Regions from separate parts of the Homo sapiens genome. Here all the other regions are linked to region 3. Evidence: promoter capture Hi-C in 16 types of primary human blood cells and fetal thymus (Javierre and others, 2016). All regions are on one chromosome and are shown on one strand. Each heading gives the region's core, a stretch centred on a gene start or on the middle of the fragment in contact. The rest is flanking DNA. Distances are from core to core; before and after follow the strand shown.

Evidence for each region. Contacts are between HindIII fragments. The CHiCAGO score rates a contact against its expected background, and 5 or more counts as called.
Region 1: a fragment that was not itself captured here is called in contact with the fragment with the promoter of ANO9 in region 3 in 1 of 17 cell types (total CD8 T cells); the score reaches 5.5 in total CD8 T cells.
Region 2: a contact is called between a fragment that was not itself captured here and the fragment with the promoter of ANO9 in region 3, in 4 of 17 cell types (total CD8 T cells, naive CD4 T cells, total CD4 T cells and 1 more). The highest score is 10.8, in total CD8 T cells.
Region 4: a contact is called between a fragment that was not itself captured here and the fragment with the promoter of ANO9 in region 3, in 1 of 17 cell types (naive CD4 T cells). The highest score is 5.2, in naive CD4 T cells.

The regions. Positions count from the first base shown.
Region 1 is chr11:309,685-312,384 of GRCh38, reverse strand. No RefSeq gene overlaps it. Among named protein-coding and RNA genes, the nearest start is that of IFITM1, 3.0 kb to the left of the region's middle. RefSeq lists an enhancer at 230-835. The HindIII fragment of the contact is 2,344 bases long and covers 79-2,422 here.
Region 2 is chr11:249,411-252,110 of GRCh38, reverse strand. It overlaps PSMD13 (proteasome 26S subunit, non-ATPase 13), which reads right to left. Exons shown (of 13, transcript NM_002817.4): 10 at 1,246-1,308; 11 at 485-565; 12 at 175-291. Among named protein-coding and RNA genes, the nearest start is that of PSMD13, 14 kb to the right of the region's middle. The HindIII fragment of the contact is 841 bases long and covers 894-1,734 here.
Region 3 is chr11:440,612-443,536 of GRCh38, reverse strand. It overlaps ANO9 (anoctamin 9), which reads left to right and starts at 1,526. Exons shown (of 23, transcript NM_001012302.3): 1 at 1,526-1,616. The coding sequence starts at 1,611. It overlaps LOC105376506 (a long non-coding RNA gene), which reads right to left. Exons shown (of 5, transcript XR_007062542.1): 5 at 2,864-2,925. It also overlaps the pseudogene RN7SL838P. RefSeq lists enhancers at 128-925, 1,233-1,502 and silencers at 1,334-1,628, 1,673-1,752. The HindIII fragment of the contact is 10,543 bases long and covers 1-2,925 here.
Region 4 is chr11:210,639-213,391 of GRCh38, reverse strand. It overlaps RIC8A (RIC8 guanine nucleotide exchange factor A), which reads right to left. Exons shown (of 10, transcript NM_001286134.2): 4 at 2,730-2,753; 5 at 2,043-2,193; 6 at 881-976; 7 at 633-777; 8 at 411-555; 9 at 1-93. Among named protein-coding and RNA genes, the nearest start is that of MIR6743, 2.7 kb to the right of the region's middle. The HindIII fragment of the contact is 373 bases long and covers 1,301-1,673 here.

The DNA.
Region 1 (2,700 bases), core at 1-2,500, 130 kb after region 3:
TGACCTCCTATCAAAGGCCACACATCACTGCGGAGTGGGGTGGGGCTTGAATTTCCCGTGGAAGGTATTTTGGAAGCTTCTTTAAATCACGGGCAGTTTAGGAAGGAAGAAACTGCAGGGCACAAGAGGGAGACAGGATTCTGAGGGGCAGGCATGGAACTGAAACCACCTTTGCAAAAGTCATAACTGAGAATATGATGACAGTGAAGGAGGTCTGACCCTAACCCACTCCGCCTGGCTTCTAACCTCCAAGCTGCCCTTGCTCATCCCTGGGCTTAGCCTAAACTAATCTGGAGAGAAACAGTTTATAGATCAAGGCTGAACAAGCCCCCTTCCTACCTGAGGACCAGACTGCCTTTGCAGGACTAACAAATTAGCCACAAGATTAGAAATTATGGTTTAGGAGTCACGCGGCTGGAGGATGCAAGATTCTGACCCCGCCACCCCTAAATTGCTCCCGGGGATCACAGCACTACTGTAGAACCTAGGATCAGAGTTTGAGATACTTTACAGACCCTGTACTCAATGGATCAGCTGGCACCACCTAAATCCACAATCTTGCTCATGTGGTCCTGTGGCCCCCACCGAGGAGCTGGGTTAGGGTTGGGAAGACAGCTTCGACTCCCCAAGACTTCATCTCCAACCGGACCGGTCAGCGCTCCTGACTCACTGGCCGCCTACCCACCATATCATCCTTCGAAACTCGGATCCCCACGTTTTTGGGGAGAAGGATTTGAGTAATAATAAAACTCCCGTCTCCCCCGCAGCCGGCTCTGCGTGAATTACACTTTCCTTATTGCGATTCCCCTGCCCCGATGCGACCAAGGGGCCCGCCCAGGAGCGCAGAGAATCCATTAAGGGGTCACAGGACCGGGCTCCCAGGGTGACTCCCTGGCCACCAAGTCCTCCAGCAGGTCACTCCTGGATTCCGGCTGGACCCCCTGCCCAGGGAGGGGCCCAGGAGACGCGGAAATCGGGTCCCCCGCGGGTGAAGGGGAGGTGGGAGCCCCAGAGGAGGGCGGGAAGGCTCGGCCGGGGACGTGCCCGAGGGGGAGGAGAGGGGCTCCCGTCCGGGTCCGGCGCTGCGGGTCTCAGGGTCCGCGTCCCGCCCACCCCGCGGGGGTCTGGGCTGCGGGCGGAGCCTCCTCCGGGACCTGCACCTGCGCCGGCCGCCGCCAGGGGCGCCGCTGAGCACCCGCCTCCGCCGCTTCCCCCTCCCCGCCGGGCGGGGCCGCGCGCCTCCCACCCGGGACCCACTTCGGAGTTCGCCCCCTTCGGGACTCGCCTCCGGGAGACCCCCGAGGGGGAGAGGGCGCTTCCTCCGCGTCCATCGCCCTTGCCGCCCCTGGGGTGAGAGCGCGGCTCCGGGGCTGGGGGCGGGAAAGGGTGGGGAGGGCGAGTAGATCCAGACCTGGAGTCGCGGGTGGACGGCGGGGCGGGGGCGCGCATGGCCACCCCAGCTCCCACCGCGGCCGCCCATGGGGCACCCCACATGCGCACACCGGAGACCGAACCGGGGAAGGGCGCTGTAACCAGGTCGGGGCGGGGGTGTCTGTCCGGGGGCTCAGACCCGGGTAGAGGTAACTTAGATGAGGGTCGCTCCACTCTCCTGCGCCGCCCCCACCACGGGGGAGCAGGGCCCATACCCGCTGGACGGGAGGGGGCAGCTGCCACGAAGCAGCACCTGGTCACCCAGGAGGGGCTGCGAGGCCCGGGGCTCCTTCAGCTGCTGCCCTGGGCACAAAGCCCCCTCCCTCCCACGGGCCCTGAGCTGCCCACATCTGCAGGACTGGCTGCTCCAGACAGCTCGGAGGCAGGCAGCGCGGTGCCCCCTCCACCCCCGAGGAACTAAAGCCAGGTCCCCAGCACCACAGAGCAGGGCCTGGGAGCAGCTGGGGAGCCGGTGCCACCTTGCCCCTCCCTGGCCCTGCTGGGGGCTTAACCCTTCCCTCTGTCCTGAGCCGACAGCCTGGATTGCCGACAGGCCGCGAGCGTGGCCTTGGGCCCAGGGTGTCCCGGACTCAGCACTGACGTTCCCGGAAAGAGCCCACGTTGAGTAGGAGCTGAGACCTGCAGGACACAGGAACTCCTCCCAGGGTCCTGGATCCAGCTGCTGCTCACGGCAGGAGGCCCGAAACCAGAAGGCCTGAGCACTTGCCCCGTCCCCAAGAGATGCACAGAGGCTGGAAGGGGCAGTGCAGGGGCTGACCAACCTGCTCATGAAAGGAGGGTCCAGCTGGGCTTCCTGGGTCGAGTAGGGGTTCAGAAAGCTGTGAAACACTCATTTCCTGCATCAGGACTTACTTCGGTCCTGGATGAAGAGTACTGAAGATACATGCCTAAAATATTCCTAACACCAGGATTTGTGCATGTGTTTCCTTCCCCAAGAAAGCTATAAACAGCAAAAATTCTGCTGTAAGCTTCCCTGTGTCCTCTCTCCCTCTCTTCCTTCCCCCTCCCCTAAAACTAAAAGGAATGTTAAAAGACCCTTTTTCTGTGACCAGCGGACCTTATCTATGCTCCCAATTCCAATTCCTTGTGAACATACTTTGTAAAGTCCTGTAAAATCCTGTCTCTTTTGCCATGCTGCTGCAAGGTCATAAAGTAGATAAAATTAGATAAAACCTAAGTTGCAATTCTGTTTTTCCTCAAAATCTAAGACATGTCACAAAATAATTTACTGCCTTTGTTTCTCTCTCT
Region 2 (2,700 bases), core at 65-2,564, 190 kb after region 3:
GGCTTGCATTAAATTAGGCTCTTAGAAAAACCCAACAGCAGTATTTCCTTCTCCAAAACCTCTTGTCTAATAATGCTGTCTTCCCAAATGGCTTCCATCCAAATGAAACTAAGACGGTATAGACACAACCCCTCAAAATCCACAGAGGTGAATAATGGGTTTCAAACACATCACCTGTTGCAAATCCAACACTCGGGGCTGCACCCAGGTCATGTGGACTCGTTTGTCCACCTCGTCTATACTGCCTTTCACCAGCCCCACCGAAAGGGCCTTCATCACCAGAAGCTCCACCTGTGCAGAGAGGGAGGCGTGTGTAAGACAAGATAGCCTGACACACCCCCATGGACCCAGATGGCTTGTGAGAAGCAGATGCCGCTCCTCCCGTCATTTTTTACTGTCTAGGGAGCACAGCGCTCACACAAGAGCCTTGACTCCTCCATGTGGCAGCTTTGCTGCTCTAACACCCTGAGCCTAGGGACCGTACCTCATTCACTGTGATTTTAGCACTTTTGGCAATTTCTTCAAAAGTGAGTTGTCTGTGATTGGCAGGTCGTGTGAAAGTCATCTGGAAAAAATTTTATTAACTATTTTAAACTATTTTTCCAAATAAAAATAGAGAACTGATAAGGATGTTTTGTCAATATTGGCTCTGAAAATAGAGATCTTATTAGTACCCCACATACTAAAAAGTTTCCTAATATTAGACATATATCTTGTTAAGAACAAGCTTTTAATGCTTAGATAAGAAGGATAACAGCAAAATGCCTTACAGGAGTTTCTGACAGTAGCCATTGTTCAATCCCCGAACAAGTACTTGAGGCCACAATTTGCCAGGGTTGACCAGGGGTGACCACGGCAAACCAGAAATCTAAGGGCCACTTCCTGACGAAGCTTAAGTTCTAGTGGGGAAAGACAGATGTGCGTGTACACAAGAAGCGACATGCAATGAGGCAACAACTGCATCACGGGGAGAGGGGCAGCTACTTCATCTCAGTTCAGATGGTCAGGGAAGGCCTCAGGGTGGTGGCAGTGGGGTGGGAGGGTGTCGTCTGAGCTAAGAGCCAAATATAAACTTAGAAGAGCAAGTGGTAGCAAAGGAAAAGGAAGGTGGTGAAGAGAGCGGCGCACAGCAGAAGCAGCACCACTGAAAGCTCACACTGCTCAGCACAGGCTTGGAGAGTGCAGCGCCCCCACCTGACCAAAATCTGAAACCACAGACAAAGTGGCTCCTGGGTGTTCGCTTACCTCCATGAGGCACAACAACTGAATTTTCCTCAGAAGCTGGGCTTCATTAGCTGCTAAATCAGGCTGTAAAGTATAGAAAGACAGAAAAATGTCTTCCATGTTTGTGCTTATCAGTTACTTAACTGGGGATCTGGAATTCGTTCTATAACAGTAGACCCAACAAAAACCAGCTAAGCAGATCCAAACATTTCACATTGCAGACTGCTGAAGCTCATTAACAACAAGTGATCTGAGCTTCATTCTTCTTAGGAAATGGAAAGAGTCGCACCTAACTGGGACACTTTGTCAAGGCAAGGAATTTACAAGGTAAGATTTGTATTAATGCTACAGACACCATTAGGCAGGGCCACAGGGTACGGGCATTTCGAGAAGACTCTCCTGGTCAAGGTGCTGTTGGGAAGGATACACCCTACTGCCCAGGGGGGTTCTTTCAAGGGCTGCTGCCGGCTCAGTGAGCCAGTGCAAGTGGAGCCCCTCTGAGGAAAAGCTTCCTTAAGTTCTAGAGACTTGTTCTGAATCAAAAGAGCAAGTTATTAATTTATAATGAAAAATATCATTGTCCTGAGAACTAGAATATACGCTTCTGCAAGATATGCATCATCTCTTCTTATGGATCAAAACGTTACCTGTGAGCACAGAATTAAACCAAGGAGACTTGTTGTTTTAATTCAAATAGCAACTCATATCCTGACACAGGTAGCCCCGATGGGGACATTTCTGCCACAAGTACTGGACAGGTCAAGCTCTGTAAAGGGCTCACTACCCCTCCAGACAGGCTTTGCTGCCTGAATAGATGCTGCCAACATGCATCTACGATTTTTTTTTTTTCTTTAAATTGCTATAACTAGCCATCTTCCTTTCTGAGTGTCACCTTTTTTTGAGATATCAATAAATAATCAGACCACAGTTAGGTCTGGCTGCATCTGTGCTTTCTGCCTCTTCACAGTGCCTTCATCTATATCTACCCTGCTCCACTATGCATGAATTTTACAAGTTTATTTTAAACTGAGAAAATTGAAAGTTTCAGAAAAATACAAAAATAACCATAATTCCTACCACAGTTAACATTTTATTAATATTTACTTCTAATAATCTCATTAAAAAAGAACATACTTATCATTAAAGCTCAAGCCCTTGTTGAGCACCTTTCCCTAACTCCCACCTTCCAGAGACAACTTCACCCAGTGCCTGCCCTCCCCTTGCACTGAGGTGAATTGGCTGTTCTCCCTGCATGGACCTCTCCCTCTCCCCGCACCCGCCGCTCTCCCCCTCCCCGCACCCGCCGCTCTCCCCCTCCCCGCACCCGCCGCTCTCCCCCTCCCTGCACCCACCGCTCTCCCATTCTCTTCACCAGGCATTTGTTCCTCCTTCATCCCATGCTCTCTCCCACCCACTCATGTTAGCCTCACACATCCCTCTTTCAGTTCAGCAAAGATACTAAACTTTTCCGTTTTC
Region 3 (2,925 bases), core at 277-2,776:
TTAAAGACAGAGTCTTACTCTGTCACCCAGGCTGGAGTGCAGTGGTGTGATCTTGGCTCACTGCAACCTCTGCCTCCCAGGTTCAAGCGATTCTCCTGCCTCAGCCTCCCGAGTAGCTGGGATTACAGGCGTGCACCACCATACCTGGCTAATTTTTGTATTTTTAGTAGAGACGGGGTCTCACCATGTTGGGCAAGCTGGTCTCGAACTCCTGACCTCAGGTGATCCACCCGCCTCGGCCTGCCAAAGCGCCGGGATTACAGGCATGAGCCACTGCGCCCGGCCAACTCCAGATTTCACTTATAGGAGAAATACACAGCTTGTTTAAGCCACCACCATTTTGCACACAGATCTGAATGTGTTCCATTTGGATTTGCCCCATCTGAGCTCACAGGTCCTCGGCCACCACTTCACTCGCTTGTCTTTGCCAAAGTGGCAAAGCTGTGGTCTCTGCTGCCATCCCAGCCTGCCAGGAGGTCCCCCAAGGAGAAACATGGGTGGGACCATGTTACCCCTTGGGGAAACCAGAGCCGACTGTTGGCCCTGGGCCTGGACCACAGCAGAGGGCTGCTGGGCTTGCCGGGGGGTGCTCTGGCCCCAGTGGGCCTGGAGCCGTTCCGTGTGACAGCGTCTGCCTGCGGAGCTCTGGCCCTGCCTCCCCAGCTTTGCAGCAGCTTTCAGAAGCAGACTCCTCGCCACACACGCTGCAGATAATGTGTGCCAGCCCACGGCCTGGGCCCCCACTCCCCGCAGCCCTTCCCTCCTCAGGGCACTCCACTGGACGGTCACTCTCAGGACACCCAGAGCCTGCCCAGCTGCCGCCCTCAGCCCAGGCTGCACAGAACGTGCTCAGGGACTGGGGATGCGGGGTGGAGGGCTCCTCCTCCGTTGTCTACACAGCCTGGGGCCAGCCACGTGTCCCCAGGACTCCAAGGATTCCCCAGTGGGGCCCAGAAAGCAGGGGCTTGGGTAGGAGCAGACAGTTTCTTTGGGAGTCTGTCTCGTCGTCAGTCCTCCTTGCCCCAGTTTCTCCTCTAAGGGAATCAGCACTGGACCTGTGGGGTGGGGGGCCGTGGCCCGGGGTGGGGGGCCGTGGCCCGGGGTGGGGGAGGCCGTGGCCCGGGGTGGGGGAGGCCGTGGCCCGGGGTGGGGGGCCGTGGCCCGGGGTGGGGGGCATGGCCTGGGGTGGGATGCTTTTGGAGGGAACATGGGGATGTGTGAGCGGGGGTGAGAGAGGCAAGGCAAGTGGGGGCGTTGGTGCTGGCTCTGTCAGGGGCTCTGTGCCATCCTGCTTCCCCCTAGGACCAGGTGTCATGAGACCCATCTCACAGTGGAAACCCCCTTCCCGGGAACTCCAGCCTAGGAATTCCCCTCTGGCCCCTGACCCGCCATCTGGGCTCCAGGAAGGTGTCCCAGGCTCCAGGGGCTGGGGTACTCTCCTGGCCTGGATGCTGGCTCCGCCCCGACTACACCCAGGCGCGGCAGCTGCAGGACGCTGGAGGAGGAGGAGGGAGGGGCGAGCCCCACGCGGAAGTCAGGTAGGAGCACCCGCCGCTGGCAGCCACTCTCCTGGCCGCCAAACCCCAGCTGGAACTCCGGCCACAGCCAGCATGCAGGTGAGTCCTGCGCTCAAAAGGGTCCACACCTTCAAGGCCCCCAGCCACGCCCACACCTGGGGCCCCCGGCCCCAGCCCCCCGCCAGCCCCACCTGGAAGGCGCCTGTGTGTGTGGGGGGGGTCCCTGCAGGCTGCCCGGTCAGGCGAGGGTGACCGCCCGGCTCAGCTAAGCTGCCTCCTGGACTCCTGGGGCACGCTGGGGGTTGGAAGTGCTGGAGGCGGGCGGCGTTCCTCCCTCCAGCCCGGGATTCTGAGGGCACCAGGGCTGGGCTCTCAGCTAGTGTGTGGGGCCAGGAACCTCTACCAGAGTCCTGAACACGAGATGGAGAGGGCCTGCCCACCGAGGCGGGGGCTGCTGCTGAGGACCCCAGACCTGGCAGCTTTGCCTTGCAGCTGGCCCCTAAGGGGGAGCGGGCTGTGGGCACCAGGCAGGCTGCCCCAGGGTTGGGAGCTGCAGAGTGGCCGGCGGGCTGTGGGCTCTCTGCTCCCCAAGGACCCCGCCCAGCACAGGTGGGGGCCGACTGCTGCTGCTGGATTCCGATTCTGGGGGTGGGCGCTGACTGCTGCTGCTGGATTCCGATTCTGGGGGAGGGAGTGCAGGTGAACACGTAGAAAGACATCCTTTCTCCCCTCTGCCAGTGAAGAGGTCACCTGGGGCCAGGGCCAACACCTGGGCAGGTCAGCACCTGGTCGGCCCAGGGAGGAGGCAGTGGTGAGGTGTGGAGTGAAACCAGCCTCCCTCTCGGCCTGCCAGGGCCTCCACGTGTGGGCTGCGCCGGCGGCCTCTTGCTCCATCTCCGCCCAGGGCTCTCCTCGGCCCTCCACATCCAGGTCTGACACCCTGGCTGCTCAGCCCAGCACCTGATGCCCCTTAGCCTGAGCTCAGGGTCCCCTCTGCCAGCCCCTTCCTCCCATGCTGGGGGTTAGAGGAGAGACTTGGGGCTGGCCAGGGGTTGGGTTGGGAGAAGCAGCACCTGGTTTGTTGGAAGTGAGAGCATCAGTCCTTCAAAAAAGACAGTTGCAGCCGGGCCTGGTGGCGCATGCCTGTGGTCCCGGCTACTCCGGAAGCTGAGGCAAGAGGATTGCTTGAACCCGGGCGTCGTGGCATGCACCTGCAGTCTCAGCTACTCAGGAGGCTGAGGCAGGAGGACTGCTCGAACCCGGGCGTGGTGGCGCGTGCCTGCGCTCCCAGCTACTCGGGAGGCTGAGGCAGGAGGACTGCTGGAACCCGGGCGTGGTGGCATGAGCCTGCGGTCCCAGCTACTCCGGAGGCTGAGGCAGGAGGGTTGCTCGAGCCTGGGAGTTCTGG
Region 4 (2,753 bases), core at 238-2,737, 230 kb after region 3:
AGCTTCATGGCCTCGTGCTCCTTCTGCTCCTCTGTCATGCCCTCCATAGGGTTAGGCGGCTTCTCCTCCACCCTCCCGGTCACAGGGTTTATGCTGTTTCCCAGTGGGTGGAATGTGGGGAATGCATTAGTGACTCTCCAGGACAGGAGGCAAGCCACCTATTTTCCCAGTGGGGTGAGGTGGGCAAGGCAACTGCAGGAAGAGGCCTCCCTCCAGAAGCGGCACAGGTAACCAGCTCCTGCCATCTGCCACCTTCTGGTATCCCAGATAGCACTTAGGAACAGGTGCTTGATTCTGGAAGCTCTTGCCCATTTGTCATCCTGTCCCACCCTACAGGGGTCCACATGGGTGTGGAAGCAGGGACTATGGGGCTGTGAGTGGAGACCCGAGGGTGTGTTGGGGGTACACACCTGGCTTTGGCTTCCTTGTACTCATCTGTGTCTGTGTCCTCATCCTCTGAGTACTGGCCCTCGGGCCGGCCTCCTGCCATGAGGCCCCTGGCAGCCAGAAGGCCAGCAGCATTCCCATAGCCTGTGTACTTGATGAATCGGGGCACTGAGGGGCAAGGCAGAGGTCAGTGTGCAAGCCTGGCTGAGGTGGGGTGGGCTGGGACCTGGGTCTCCATAACTCACCACTCTCAGAGCACAGGACAAACAAGAACTCGGCAGCCACCCTCTTCACATCTGTGTCCAGGTGTGTCATGAGGCGGACAAGCTTGTTCCGCAGCATCTCCCCAACCTCAGGCCGTGTCCTCACATCCCGCAGAGGGGGCAGCACCTGGGGAGGTGGCCATCCCTAAGCTTGGGCTTAGAGCAGCCAAGGGTCTGTGATCAGGGCCGAAACCACATCCCCCAGGAGCACCAGCTCCTCAGCCTTATACCTGGGCCTTCAGGAACTTCCTGGCTGGGCGGTGCATCCGGGCACATTCAGTCAGCACGCTCAGCACGGGAGCTACACTCTCCTTCAGCCTGTGTGTCTGTAGAGGATTCTCTGTCACTGGGGCTATGCCCCTGCCTAACTTGTGACTGGCACAGAGTTACACCTCCCCACCACCCCTTCCCACCAACATACACAACAGCTGGTCCTGGCGGCAGAGGTTTGGGAAGAGGCCCCTCTGCAGTTAGTCAGCAGAAGGCCAAGAGTGGGTGGTGGGTGTCTGTGTCACTTTTGAAAAGGACAGGGATAGAGCGTAACTCAGAGGTACTCGTAAGCTTTGTGACTTGGGAGAAATAACTGCTTTAAGTCTAATTACTTCAACTATAAACCAGAGCTGGGAAGAAAACACAAAGCAATTAAAGCTTTAGACTCGCACACACATTGCCCTCAGATGTTGGTGGCAAAAAGAAACGAGAACCGAATCCCCGCTCTGTGTACTTCGTGGACAGAGCAGGGAGTTCTTGACCCTCCTAGCATAATGTGCCTGGACCCCAGCACCAGCAGTGGCAGCGACGGGCACAGACAACCCCCTAGCTGTGTGTCCAGTGCCAGCTCCCTATCCTGACTGGCTCGCAGGCACCTTGTGTGTCCCTTGCTTAGGCAGGTAGATTCCCAGGAGGTCTACTAAATCTCGGTTTATTGTACTCCAGCCTGCTTTCTGCAAGCTCCTGGAAGATGGTTAGAGCCCCAGCTGTCCAGATGCCCTGTAGTGCAGTCACAGCAATCAGAAGGAAGCTTTGATCTGAGGTTCCTATGGGTCTCCTCAGGATGCTGAGGGACAACTATGCTTGTAATCAAGGGCTGCCTGTGTTTAAGACTTAAAAGTAGGGACTGGGGGGCTTCTCTGGACCACTCAGTAAAGATCCCCAAAGATTTAAGAAGTGAAACCTTCAAGTGTGTGGAAGGTGTCCACATGCTTCTCATGGAGGAAGGGTCTGGCTTCTTGCCAGGCTGGACCACAGAACAACCGGAAGAGTCGCCCATATCACACCACCAAGACAATCTCCACGTACCAGTGTGGACAGTGTGGAAGCACTGACCACATCTGTGCAGGAGAACCAGTGCCAGAGCCACTGGGGGAGCCTGCACAGCCATCCCCAGCCTACCTTGTGCAAACGCTTCTCTAGGAAGATGAGGAGGGCACGAATCACATCCATATTCACTCCCATGAACTCCGTGGAGTCTCCATGTGGCTCCAGGGTGAGGAGAACATCCAGACACTTGAGGGGCAAGTTCCCCAGGAGGTTCACTGCGTGGCTGGGGACAGATGGAGGTAGGGGTTTCAACAGGGCTAATCCCTGAGCACAGGTGCAATCTTTGTGACTCCGCTGAACCACACATTACATGAGCTGGCATCTGAGTCCCAAAGGGGCAGCGCTAGGGACCAAAGCCAAGGGCAGGGACTGATCTGAGAGGCACTGCCACTCAGCTGTACAGTGGGGTCCCCTGGGGAAGTGGGGGCACTGAGACACACTGCCTCCCCGACCCTGTCTGAGCCAAAGCGCCAGACCATCTCTGGAAACCCAGACCAGCCTAGGGGCAGGTAGACCAAAAACGGGGACAAGGAACCAATGTGCCCTAGTAAGTACCATACTGTTGCCACTACCCAAGGCCCAGTTGGCACATTCCTGCCCCCAAATTCATGGCTATGTCCAGTCTCACTCACCCAGACAACGTCAGACTCTCTAGGGTGGGGCCTGGGCTCTCAGGTGGTTCTGGTTCAGAGCCGGGGTTGAGGACGACCATCTAGACATGTGGGCACACTTCCCTCCCAGAAAAAGCCCCATTCTCACCCGTGGAACTCCTCTGTGCGGTCT